Regions from separate parts of the Homo sapiens genome. Here all the other regions are linked to region 1. Evidence: promoter capture Hi-C in 16 types of primary human blood cells and fetal thymus (Javierre and others, 2016). All regions are on one chromosome and are shown on one strand. The core of a region is centred on a gene start or on the middle of the fragment in contact, and the rest is flanking DNA. Distances in the headings are between cores, read along the strand shown. Region 1 holds the start of PGBD2 (piggyBac transposable element derived 2). Region 2 has its middle 24 kb from the start of LYPD8. Region 3 has its middle 9.0 kb from the start of OR14I1. Region 4 overlaps OR14I1 (olfactory receptor family 14 subfamily I member 1).

What was found. The method cuts DNA at HindIII sites, captures the fragments that hold promoters and counts their contacts. A CHiCAGO score of 5 or more calls a contact.
Region 2: a contact is called between a fragment that was not itself captured here and the fragment with the promoter of PGBD2 in region 1, in 1 of 17 cell types (neutrophils). The highest score is 6.7, in neutrophils.
Region 3: a contact is called between a fragment that was not itself captured here and the fragment with the promoter of PGBD2 in region 1, in 6 of 17 cell types (monocytes, M2 macrophages, total B cells and 3 more). The highest score is 7.2, in monocytes.
Region 4: a fragment that was not itself captured here is called in contact with the fragment with the promoter of PGBD2 in region 1 in 9 of 17 cell types (total B cells, naive B cells, neutrophils and 6 more); the score reaches 13.1 in total B cells.

The regions. Positions count from the first base shown.
Region 1 is chr1:248,904,287-248,907,675 of GRCh38, forward strand. It overlaps PGBD2 (piggyBac transposable element derived 2), which reads left to right and starts at 1,949. Exons shown (of 3, transcript NM_170725.3): 1 at 1,949-2,056. RefSeq lists enhancers at 1,579-2,500, 2,025-2,214 and silencers at 1,835-1,894, 2,305-2,394. The HindIII fragment of the contact is 4,441 bases long and covers 1-3,389 here.
Region 2 is chr1:248,730,476-248,733,660 of GRCh38, forward strand. No RefSeq gene overlaps it. Among named protein-coding and RNA genes, the nearest start is that of LYPD8, 24 kb to the right of the region's middle. The HindIII fragment of the contact is 4,902 bases long and covers 1-3,185 here.
Region 3 is chr1:248,710,190-248,713,274 of GRCh38, forward strand. No RefSeq gene overlaps it. Among named protein-coding and RNA genes, the nearest start is that of OR14I1, 9.0 kb to the left of the region's middle. The HindIII fragment of the contact is 2,355 bases long and covers 619-2,973 here.
Region 4 is chr1:248,691,072-248,694,623 of GRCh38, forward strand. The region is part of intron 3 of OR14I1 (olfactory receptor family 14 subfamily I member 1); the gene reads right to left. Among named protein-coding and RNA genes, the nearest start is that of OR14I1, 9.9 kb to the right of the region's middle. The HindIII fragment of the contact is 9,246 bases long and covers 1-3,552 here.

The DNA.
Region 1 (3,389 bases), core at 699-3,198:
TTTTTCCCAATTCCTATCATGCAGTTCTTCTGCCATTCTACCCCAAATTTGACATTGTTTTCAAAGATTTGACTTTGTTTTTAAACGTAGCTTTATTCAAAGCAATGCACTGAAAATGTCTAGATGGACTCTTTGCAGCTCCATAAACACTTACACTTGGTCCCGATCTTTTTATTAACTTTAAATTACATATGCAAGTATCCAAATTGCAGTGAGAATTCTCTCTGGATCATAAAGGTATGGAAGAAACAGCCAGCAAGCACCTTATTACTCCTTGTTGAACTCACCCCCTCTTTGACCTCATTTCTTTGACTTTCTTTTGTCTCCAGCCATTCTCAAATGTGCTAGGCTTGCTTCGCCTCAGAGCATTTGCACATGCCATTCTCTCTGCTTCAAATATTTTCCCCCTTGAATTCTGCATGGGGAATTTGCTCTTCATATTCTTTGGCTTTTCCCTCAAATACAACCTTCTCACTTACCAACCTTCCCTGACCAAATTATTTAAAACTGAATTCACAACAGTCTTATTGGTCCCCTTTGCTTCCTTTATTTTCTTCCTAGCACTTTCCACTTTGACATGCCATATATTTTGTTTACTGTCTGGTTCTCCCACTGAAATGACAAGAGGGTTTTTCTCTTGTGCCTTTTCTTTTTCACTGTTCTAACATCACTGCTCAGAGGAGTGATTGTCACAGAGAAGACACTCATTTAACACTTGAATGAATGAATGAGACACAGGATCTGGGGAACAAAGCAAGTTAGAAACACCACCCTACCTTACCTAGAGTAGCACTCCCATTTTCCCATGGCTTATTGCCTGTTTTCTCAATTTGCTCATATGTGGAATGAATGACAAACTAATACGTGCCCTTCACTTCAGAATCTCACAAATGAGCATGATTTTTTTCTTCTGATCCAGGGGTTTTGGAACACACTTTACAGTGACCAAAAAACCTTTGTGAAGTGTCAGTGTGGAGAAGCAAATACAAACTCTTCACTAAGTGGCCCTCTTTTTGAATGTTAACACGGTTTGGTCCCAGGGATTTCTGTGTTCAAAGCCTTTCAGGGCAAGGCAGTTTTCTGCGGAGTACACTGTCCTATATACCTAATGGGCTACTGGGTTTCAGCTGGACAAAGTCCTTATAGAGCCGTGATTCTCAAGAAGTAGGGGGAGATACTTTTATTTGTCATAACTAGAGTGGAGAGAGTGTGGTGTGCTACTGGCATTTAGTTGCTAGGGATGCTCAATATCCTACAATTAAGGTTCTATTTTTACCAAGTAAAAATATAGGTAGGCAAGGTAGCCAGATGAAATACAGGGACTTCCAGTTAAATGTGAATCTTAGATGAACAACACTGTTACCTGAAACTCAAATTTAACTGTATTTTATCCGTGACCCTGCCTCCTATAATGCACAGGACAGCCTCCTTCCCTCTCAACAAAGAATTATCCAGGCCCAAAATGTCAAGAGTGGAGGTTGAGAAACCCTGCCATACAGCAGTGGTTCTCAAGCCCTAGTTTGTACCACAATTACCTTCAGGGTTGGTAAGGCCGATTATTGGGCACACCCTCAGAGTTTCTTACTCAGAAGGCCTGTAGTGGGGTCCCAAGATTTGCATTTCCATCGATTTCCCAGGTGAAGCTGCTGTTAGATTGGGGGCACATTTGAGAACCACTACCCTAGAAAGTCCCCATGCTCTCCTGATTAGGAAGGAGCGAGGAAGGTTTCCAAAGTAGGACAGGGGTGGGAGGGTAAGGGAGAGTGGCGGGAAGAGCTGGCCCGCTGGGGTGGGTTATTTCGGCCGTTCTGGCCTCGCAGGCGTTTTCGGGATCCCTCTAGGCGCCGCGGAGGTCCTGGAGTCTCGATGGTCGCTCGGGCCGGGGCGTGGCCTGGCCCGGGGGCGTGGCATGGAAGGCCGGCCGAGGTGCAGCGAGCCCTCTGGTGCCGGACGTTGCGCGGCCGCGACGCCCGACGCCAACGCAGGCGCAGCGCTCCGATTCGGCGCGGCTCATGGTCCGGTTCGGGCTCGCGAGTCTCCGTCTGGGGTAGGGCAGGTAGGCCTCAGTGTGCTCGCGCTGCAGGCAGGGCTTCGCTTGAGTACAGGAGTGGTTGGCGTTGATGTTGCGTTTTCTCAACGGCGGCATCCGAGGAGTTCGTCCTCACCACTGCGCGCCGACGGTGGGCTGGCGGGACCAGGACAGGAACAATGGGATTCCGAGGGCCGCAAGGGGGCGCTCCTTCTGCGGGTTGGGGTGCGAGGCCGGAGGCCGGGCCGGCTGAGCGGGAGGCGGAGCGGGGTGGGTGGGGACCAGGGCGGGGTCGGGCTAAAGAGGGATGGATTCAGGGCGGGGTGGGAGGGACCAGGGCAGGCTCGGGCGGGGTGGGCGGGACGAAGGAGGCGGGCGGCCTGAGGCTGGCGGCGGGACTGCGAATGCCACGTCACATCCTGGGGCGGGGTGGCTCTGTGCCGGGGCGCGCTGGGGGCGGGTCGTTTTTAACTGCGTCTGCCTGGGAAGCTGCTGAGGTTTCTGAGGGTCTTTGTTTGCCCTTCTTTCTCTTTTGCTAGTGAGGTGAAGAGAAGGGAGGGTTCTTCCGTATCCCACAAAAGCCATTCTGAGCTGTTGGGTGAAGGGGTGGCCTGCCCTTCCACACCTGTGGGATATCTTGTCAGGTGGGAGGAGAGACTGAGAAAAGAAATAAGACACAGAGACAAAGTATAGAGAAACCACAGTGGGCCCAGGGGACCGGCACTCAGCATACCAAGGACTTGCACCAGCACCGGTCTCTGAGTTCCCTCAGTTTTTATTGATTATTGTTTTCATTATCTCAGCAAGAGGAATGCGGTAGGAGAGCAGGGTGATAAGGAGGTCAGCAAAGAAACATGTGAGCAAAAGAATTTATGTCATAAGTTCAAGTGGAGGTACTATGCCTGGATGTGCACGTAGGCCACATTTATGTTTCTCTCTGCCCAAACATTTCAGTGGAATAAAGAATAACAGGGCAGCATTGCTGCCAACATGTCTTGCCTCCTGCCATAGGGCAGTTTTTCTCCTATCTCAGAATTGAACAAATGTACAATCAGGTTTTGTACGGAGACATTCAGTTCCCAGGGGCAGGCAGGACACAGTGGCCTTCATCTATCTCAACTGCAAGAGGCTTTCCTCTTTTACTAATCCACCTCAGCACAGACGGGTGTCGGGCTGGGGGACGGTAAGGTCTTTCTCTTCCCACGAGGCTGTATTTCAGACTATCACATGGGGAGAAACCTTGGACAATACCCGGCTTTCCAGGGCAGAGGTCCCTGTGGCTTTTCATGGTGCATTGCGCCCCTTGTTTATTGAGACTAGAGAATGGTGATGACTTTTACCAAGCATACTGCTTGTAAAC
Region 2 (3,185 bases), core at 15-2,514, 170 kb before region 1:
AATAAATAAAATAAATCCAACAGAAAAGTAGGTAAAAGACATACACAGATAAATTATATATAAAATCTTAATGGACTTCAAATACATGAAAAATGTTCAAACTCCATAATTAAAGAAATGCAAATTAAAACAACCTTGAAATCTTATTTCCCAGCTGTCTGACTGGCAAACATTAAAATGGAAAATGGAACATTCTTTGGCATAACTGCTGTTAGGAATGCACAGGTCAGCACAATCTTTCCGTAGGGGAATTTGGCAAACCTAACAAAACTACCTGTGCATTAATGACCCAGCAATCCAACTTCTAGGAATCTGCTCTGAAGACATACCTTCAGTGTTAGTGGCAGCAGAGATCTGAGATACCCTGAGTTTTCCGCGGCATCCACAGGAGCCCACAGGAACTTCAGCTCTTGCTTCCTCAGGAGAAAGAATTCGACTGAGGTGCATAAAGCAGGAAAAGAGACCGAGGCAAGTTTCAGAGCAGGAGTGGAAGTTTATTTTAAAAGGCTTTGGAAAAGGAAAGAAACGAAAATTTGCTTGGAAGAGACCCAAGGGGGCGCCTGAAGGTCCAAGAGAGAAAAAAGGAGGCCTTTAACCTTAATCCTAGAACTCTATAGACTCGCCTCTTTCCCATGATTCTTCCCTTAGGGCGGGCTTTCCGCATGCCCAGTGGTCTCCTTGCCCTTTGAAACTGAGCATGCGCAGTGTGTTTAGGGAGTAATACGCATGCCCATCTCAGGCTTGCTTTCTTTTTCCAGTGGCGTGTACCAGTAATGTCATGCTTGACATTTTTGTCTTCTTAATGTGCATGTCCAGGAAGTTTCTCTTCCCTGGGGTCTTCATTCAATGAACACTTCAATGTTTAACAGCTGTGGATCATGAGGAGATCTTCCTCTCCATGGCTCCGGAATTATCATTTTTAGACAGGCAGTTTGATAATTGTTGAACCAGCACCTGACGTTTCTAGTGGGTGAGGGAGAACGCTCTCCTGCCCCACTCATGGCTATCTACCTATAAAATTCAGCAATAGAAAAATACAAATGCTCAAGGGTATTCATTGAAACATTGTGATTGCAAAATATTGGAGCAAACTGAAAGCCCATACAGCACAGAGCAGTTGAAAAGCCACACTGTGGACTCCGGTGACGCACTGCGGAAGAATGGCAGACCCCATGAACAGAAGCAACAGATTTCCAGAATATACTATGAAGTGAGAAAAAGCGAAATTGCATAAGGGTATCTACAGTAGACTACTACTCAGGTGGGCCGCTCTTAATTGGTTGCTGTTTATAAAGCTGAGATGACCAGCTGGAGTGATCTGGACAACAGACAGGCCCAGGAGAGGCCCAAGTACCCCAGGGCTCTTCCAGTGGTGGGAGTGTGCCCCCACCAAAGTGTCGATGAGCAACCCCTGGAAGGACACACCAGAAGGTGAGCCCTAAGGCAAAGCGCACACACCATCTGCAACTCAGCCTGGGCCGTTCCCAAGCTCTCTGGAGTGCTCAGGCCCCAAAAGGGGCGGAAATGGAGCGTGGAAAATTCTTTTGGCCAAGAACGTCTCTGACCTTCAGGAGGAAAATGAATGAATAAGCAAGCAAACAAATAAAAGCTAGAACCATCCAGGTAAAAAGTGACTACTTTAGCTTATACAGAAAAATATATAAACTATTCAATGTAAGAAATAAAAAAGATAAACTTTAGTGCTATATTATGGTCACAGGGGAAGAAAAAGTGAAAGCAGGTGAGATGGGGTTGGAGAACACAAATGAGGCACTGAATTCCAAAAGAAAAAAGACAAATAGTGAGACGAAGACTTGGAGGCAGGAAGAAAGACAGCTGGGAGTCCACTCTTAGCCAACACAAGATTGAATATACTGGGGTGCACAAGTACCTTGTAAACCAAAAATAAAATTCTAAGGCCTCCCAACCATCTGAATGGACTTCTCGTCAGCCAGGGCTCTTTTAAAATTTAACCTAAGAGACTGTTTTAGGCTATGACTGTTTTAGGGGGTTGGACATGTCTCATTATACCTCTCCAGCATTAACATGGACACAGACTTTAAGTCTGATAGGAAACAGTTTACAACCTATCCTCTCCGAAGCCTACCACCTGAAGGTTTCCTCTGCAAATAGGAACTTGGGTCTCCACAATCCTTTATCTTAACCCAGACATTCCTTTCTATTGATCCCACGTCTCTAGACAAACTCAACAAATTGTCAACCAGAAAATGTTTAAATTTACCTGTAGCCTGGAAGCCCCCATTTTAAGTTGTCCTGCCTTTCTGAACCAAACCAAGGTACCTCTTAAATGTATTTGATTGATGTCTCATGTCTCCCGTAAATATGTAAAATCATGCTGTGCCCTAACCACCTTGGGCACATTTTCTCAGGACCTCCTGAGGGCTGTGTCATGGGCCATGGTCATTCATATTTGGCTCAGAATAAATCTCTCCAAACCCCAACTCTGTTCCTCCATTGAGGAAGAAGTATGGCTGTCTCTAGGCCCCTAGGCCACTGTGTTCACTTGAAGACGAGTTCTCAAATTTTGTATTGTCCCTTCCTGCCCACCTTGAAGCCCATAGGGGATGATATCCAAGCCCAAGTCCCCACTGTGGCTAAAAGGTTCTAAAGGAACAGAAGCTGAGAGGAACCTGAGGGATCCCGAAATCACCATTTCACAGATTCTATAAGGAACTAGAGACAGAAGGAAGCAGACTCACCCAGGGCACTCAGCTGCCAGCACAGAGCTGCAACCACTCACTCAGGTCTTTCCCTGGGGTTCTGTGATCAGGGAGAATTGCATGAAATCTCAGGACCTACCTCCTCGGCTGTGTGACCTTGGGCTAGGCACTGGGTCAGGGAGAAATGTATGAAATCCCAGGACCTACCTCACTAGCTGTGTGACCTTGGACAAGGCACTGGCCTCTGCCAGGCTTAGTTTGCTCATCTGAACAACAGGGACATGTAATACCTACCTCTATGGGTTGTCATGGGAATAAAATATGGCCAAAGCCCGTTACTCAAAGGGAGTATTGACTTCTACTACCATCACAGCTGGTACCATCATTGTAGGTAATAATACTGGGTTGACTCCAAATCACACATAGTTGGGTGGGGCCTGTGCTCATGTCTGGGGGAGTTTGTCACTGTATCTTAGGGACTCTAAATCCCCTGATTCATGCTCC
Region 3 (3,085 bases), core at 546-3,045, 190 kb before region 1:
TTTGATTTGCATTTCCGTGGTGGCTAATGATGTTGAGCATATTTTCATGGGATTTCTGGCCATTTGTATATTTTCTTTGGAAACGTTAACAGTCTTTTGTTACCTTTCCTTTTTACTTTTAATGGCTAAACACAATCTTTTCCCTTTTTAAGCTATTTAAGAAAAGCAACACCTTAAAATAATACAACAACAATTAGATGAAACTGAGGTCCAGATAACTCTCCTTTGCTGATTCTATTCTTTGTACTCAGAAGTGCCAGTGTTCATGAAGACCTGTAGTCCCCACATGATGAGAGGCAAAAACATGAGAATTATTAGTTTAGGTCACATTGTACACTGAGTTTTGTGGTGGGTGGTTTTTATCTTATTTAGGGAAGTTTAAAACAATCTTATTTAGGGAAGTTTTCTCTTATTTAGGGAAGTTTATTTTATTTAGGAATGTTTAAAAAAGTTTAAAACAATTAGGGAAGTTTAAAACTACATATTTCATCCTACTGACAGAGTTAAGCTTGCTTCATCTGCCTAGTGTCCTGAAGAAATTTCACAAGAGGTTACGAGAAAATGTAGTTTCAAAACCAGCAACGGCAGCAATATCCACAGCCGGTTATGGAGATTTTAAGCTTTTGTTTGAAAACCAGTTTCTAAAAATGAATCCAGTTGCAATAGCGTATGTATTTTAAAGAGAATGATAATTATATAGGGCAGTAGAAGAAAAGCTGGAAAAAGAACACAACAAACTTGAATGTTGATGCAATTTCATGCTGCTCTTCATTTATATCTTTGTATCTTATAAAGATAAAATAGGGAGATATAAATAGGGAATCAAAAATGTACATAGTTGAGTGAAAATTAAGCATAAGCACAATTATTTAATGTGTAGAGTTTGTGTTTGAGATTGTGAAAATGTTTCAGAGATGAATAGTAGAGGTGGTTACACAACGTGGTGAATGTACTTAATGACACTAAGTTATACACTTGAAAATGGTTTCAATGGCAAATTTTATGCTATGTATATTTTGCCACAATAAAAAGGTTTTTTAAGAGTCAGTAGCTCAAAAGAAGACAGAGAGATCAAATGGCTAGAGATGCCTAGCACTCACCTTCTCCACAAAGAAGGACCAAAGTAACAAATTGATAAACACACATTGACTAGAATGTCTAAGGAAGAACACTGGAATTCAGCAGATAGTGTTCAAATTCAAAGAAAAGAAACTTTGAGGCACAAAAACTCAGGATGACAGCATAGAGAGGTAAGCAATGCAGCCTACCGAGATGTGCTTGGAGCCAGGAGGGACTCCCTCCCCATTGCGGAGAAAAGGTTAGCAGGAGGTCCCCAGAAGTCTATATTTCCACCAGACACCTGCAGTCATAGCTACAGGAGAGCCCTCAGCCCTCACAGTCCCTTAGTCTAGTATAGGGTACTGCCTAGAGTCCACATGACTTTACTACTCCAGAGAGAGAATTTATGCTGGATTCCCCCAATGTCCCAGGACCCAGGGCTGCAGCATGGCACCATTTTGGGAGTGGAGCCATCACCAGAGTACATACTGTCCAGGGGCCCAATTGCTCCTTCATCTCCACATCCATCCCTGGGGTCTCATCCACATCCCACCACAGGTACCCAGAGTGTTGCTGCATAAAGACACAACTGAGATCTGTTATAGCTGTGCAGCTGTGACCCTGGCACCTGAGCCCATGCAGCCCCTTATACCCTGTGGAGCCAGAAGACTGGTGTGTGTGCTCCCCAGACCCTGAAAGCCACCTGCCTGGGCTTTTGCTGCTTCTGCTGCAGGACACATCCACTCTAGTGGTAGTGTCATCTCACACCTGCACATACTGCCCAAGGGCTAAAGGAATGGCCTGCCCAGAGCCTGCTACCACCAACACCAGCACCCATGAATGCCACCAATGGGATGAAGACTGACAGTAAAGGGATGGAAAATAATATTCCATGCAAATGGAAATCAAAAGCATCCAAGAATAGCTCTATTTATGTCAGACAAAATAGACTTTAAGTCAAAAAACATAAAAATAGACAAAGAAAATCATTAAATAATGATGAAGAAATAAATTTAGCAAGAAGGTATAACAATTATAAATATATATGCACCCAACACTGGAGCACCAATGTAAAGCAAATACAATTAGATCTAAAGGGAGAGATAGACCCCTAATGTAATAATAGTTGGAGACTTTGTGAAAGGAAAATAAATCTTGGGGCCCCAAAATCACTAAGCTAAAGGGAAAAGTCAAGCTGGGAACTGCTTAGGGCAAACCTGCCTCCTATTCTATTCAGTCACCCCTCTGCTCACTGAGATAAATGCATATCTGATTGCATTTGGTCTTTGGAGGGGCTAGTCAGAAACTCAAAAGAATGTAACCATTTGTCTCTTATCTACCTATGACCTGGGAGTTCCCTCCCTGCTTCGAGTTGTCCTGCCTTTGCTTCGAGTTGTCCTGTCTTTCCAGACTGAACCAATGTTCATCTTACATATGTTGATTGATGTCTCATGTCTCCCTAAAATGTATAAAACCAAACTGCGCTCTGAGCGCCTTGGGCACATGTCCTCAGGACAACCTGAGGCTATGTCCTTTGTGTGCATCCTCAACCTTGGCAAAATGAACTTTTTAAATTAACTGAGACCTATCTCAGATATACAGGATTCACATTTTGTTAACTGTGGAGGGATTCTGAATGGAGATGCCCCTTGACCTTTGAAAAATCTCCTATTGGTGCTTGGTACCCGCATGAGCTAACTTTATGGCTCAAACCAATAGGACAATTTGCTGAGGTCTGGGAGCACCCCCTCCAGATGATACAGGAGCTAGAAAGAAATTATTTAGGCAGTTAATGAGGGTAAGAGAGTCCTTAGCAAGGTTTTGCTTTTAATAAAAAGCAGACCCCAAATCATTTCTTTTCTAACAAAGAGCAGCCTGAAAAATCAAGCTGCAGACATGGAAAAGCAAGCTAGAAGCTTGCATGGGTGAGTGCTGGCAGTTGTGCCAATAGGAAAAGGCTACCTGGGGGCCAGGCATGTTCAACATGGAGGCTCCATCTTCCCTTTTCTCTTTCAATCACATGTAC
Region 4 (3,552 bases), core at 298-2,797, 210 kb before region 1:
CTTTATCCATTTATCCCTTGATGGATATTTAGGTTGCTTCCAAAAAGAATTAGAGCTTCTGCAGCTGCCAGAAAGTAAGCCATCAAAACAGCAGTTGGGTAACAGGAAGAATTCTAACACTCTTGAGCTCATAGGTAGAAGGGACCCTTCATTCATTCAACACACACTAACAATGCATTTATGTCCCAGGTACAGTGCTAAAGGCTGGAAGTATGTGGATCATGCATACATACACAGTCCCTGTCCTTTCAAAGTGTTCAGTCTCAAGGAGGTGTGAGTATGTTAGAAAATATTCTGAGGTGCCAGAATTGCACTAGATGCATTGATGACTTGGAGGGTATTGGTAGGGTAGAATGTTCCCGTCAGAGAATTAAGTATATAGGTACCCTTTCCTCAAAAATGCTTAGACTAGGTAGGGAAGAGGGTGAGGCACAATAGCATATCTTTAATTGGGTGGGGTGAGAACCAAAGAATCGGAAAAACAGACATTCCAGCTCCTCCAAGTTCTTCCAATCGTCAGAACTGTGGAACTAGCCCACCAGGCTTTCTCCAGTCACGTGAGCCGGGAGCCACCAGGATCTCATTGGCCAAGGCTCCCAGAGGGCGGGAAGAGCGGGAAGTGAGGACCAATGGGGCAGGCCAAAGGGACTGTGGAGGCCGACGCATGCGCAGTGCCCTCCGGCCTAGCCCGGCCAACCCGCCTGTCCCGGACCGCCCGGCGTCAGGTACGGGTTCACCAAGCCACCCCGCCCACCTCAGGACGCAGCTGCCGGTCCAGCTGCTCCCGCGGGCCCACAGCGCGCTGTGGAAAGGAGCGGACAGGCCAGAGGCTCTCTCGGGCCTACAAGTCTCTAGGCTAGGCAGTGTTTCCGAGTCCCAGGTGCCTCCAGAGGCCGAGCTCACAGCGCGGCCCACCCAGCATCCGGGGGCGCTGTGAGGGGCGCTCGCCCAGCAGCGGAAAGGCCATTCGCGTGGCGCGGGAGCGCGGGCCCGGCCGCCTGGGCGTGTCCCTTTCGCGGAACTGAGCTCACTGGCTCCTCTCTTCCAGACGGAGCGACGGGGCCGGCCGCAGCCTCAGCCACGCGTCCCTCGGTGGCGGGCAGGCTCCTCTTGGCCTGCAGCCTTACTTTCATGCCCTTCTTCACAGGTGAGCGGATGGCTTGGGGTCCTCCCGCATTTCCCGCAGCGTCGCTCTCTGCATTCCCGCATTCCCAGGTTCCTGCTGCATTCGTGAATTCCCTCCTGCATTCCTGTACTCTCCACTCTTCCAGCCTGCATTCCCACATTTCCACCCTCATTCCTGCATTCCCAACTGCATCCCCCAACGTTGCCACTTTCTCCCCATCGTTCCCACCTGCGTTTCCGCATTCCCACATCCCTGCTCTGATTCCCACCCGCATTTCTGAATCCCCACCTGCTTTCTCTACCCCAGTCCAGCCTTTATTCCGGCATTTCTGCCTTCATTCTCGCGTTCCCAGCCACATTCCCCTTTGCATTCTGCAGACCTCCAATCACCTTTCTTTGTTGGGCAGTGTACTCATCAGCACGGCATAAGGAAAGAGCAGACACGGCTCCTGCCCTCATAATGCTTACAGTCTACAGAACAGTGCTGGGGACACAGTCCTGAGTGTTGCCTTCTGATCAACCACTTAACTGACTGCCTGGCCTCAGGAAAGCAGCTGAGCTTATCTGTTCTTAGGTATCCTTATTAGAGTACTAAGAATATTGGTTCCTGCCTATTATAGTTGTAAGGAACATGTGAGCTAGTAAAGGGCTGACACAATGCCTGGCATGTAATAAGCTCTCATTAAAGAGAGCTTTAATGTTTGTCTGTCTTTCTCCAGAGACCACTTCATGTTGGGAGAATTGTGGGGAGAGAAAATGTTCACCAGTGAAACGTGAATCATGAGCCCTCATCCAAGTAGTTCTACTTCCCCGATTTCCCTGAAGGTTATAGGGTACTGTGTGAGCAGCCTCTAACTCTCCCTGGTTGTTCACAGAAGTAAGATGTTCTGGGTCTGCTTATCGGGAGGAGTCATTCAGTTAGTGCCACATAATCATTTTAACATTTCTCCCATTGCTGCCAGGGCATCCTGCATCACCTCCCAAGCCAGCCTCCCACGTCACCTGGGTGGTGTACTAATTCACGGCCAGGAGCACTGACTGTTCCTGCTCCCACGTCACCTGGGTGGTGTACTGATTCACGGCCAGGAGCATTGACTATTCCTGGCCACCTCCTTGCACCTTTCCTGGTTCCCTCAGCCTCTCAAAGTTCTCATCTTTCCTTTGATGAGAAAGAGAAGGGCAGACTGAAAATAGACTCACCACCCACCTGTCCTTTCCCCCTGCCCCATACTGGTGGACCAGCATCACAGTAAAAATAGTTACCACTTAGTAAGAATTCATTATGAGCCAACTTAGGATTTTTGATAAGATAAAAGAGTTCAGCATAATTTTACATAAAATTAGTTTTTTCTTGATATATTTTCTTCTCTTCTGCTTTCCACACCTAATAAAACATTACAGAAAGTCTTGTTTTATTTATTTTGAGGACAGGCCTTAGGTAAAATGTGGAAGTTTATCTTGGAGCTTCCAATCTTCAAGTTCTCTTCTCCTTTCCCCATCCTCTGTCTTCTCCACTCTATCCTATCTTATCTCCTCTAGAGCCCAAACCCAGCCCCACTGATTTTTCTCAATCAAAGCTCATTTAAAAAAAAAAAAAGGATGGGAAAATCGTCGTTCCTCTCACTATGAATAGCTAAGAACAGTGCTATTAACTTGCCTGGTATGCTCTGCATTTTAACAGAAATCAAAGTCCAGAACTTTTTAAAAAAAAAAAAAAAAACCATTTACTGGAATATTGGGCTTAAGAGTGTTTGTGCATTTGGTTGAGAGGGCAGGAAGACCTATCAGTCTGCATGTGGCACACACTCTAATAATTTTCTTCAAGTTCACATGCCATTGCCTTGGGACATCAGGGCCCCAGCCAGGCACTGGAGGGGCAGAGGGAGGCATGTGGGCAACTTTGAGGGGAGTGGGAGAAAGTGATACTTAATCTCATACTTAACCAGGTGACCACTTGTTTCCTCAAAAGTGCCCTCCTTTGCTCTGCTGATCAGAGATTGCTTAGTGGTTATGATTAGTAGTGAAGTTTGTTTGAATATAATATTTTCTGTAACAAGCCTTTTTTTTCGGGAGCAAAAACAAATTTTAAAACTTTTTTTCATATATTGTCCCATTTTAAAAATTTACTTACATTTGTTTTTAATTGTGTAACTGTAAAAATAAATAATATATGCCTATGACGTATATTATCCTACCCTCTTCAGCCCCCAACACAACTCCTGTTTAGCAACCATAGTTATTCCTTTCTTGTTTACCTTTCCAGAAATGGTCTGTTACTTACAAACATATCCAAATGCATCTTTTCTTTCCATTGGCAGCATTTTATATCAAATGCTCTACATCTTGTTTTTTTCCCCTTAAAAGTACATCTTGAAGAGCTTTTCATTTCATCAGAATATGGCCATATTCTGTCTATGGTGGTATTCA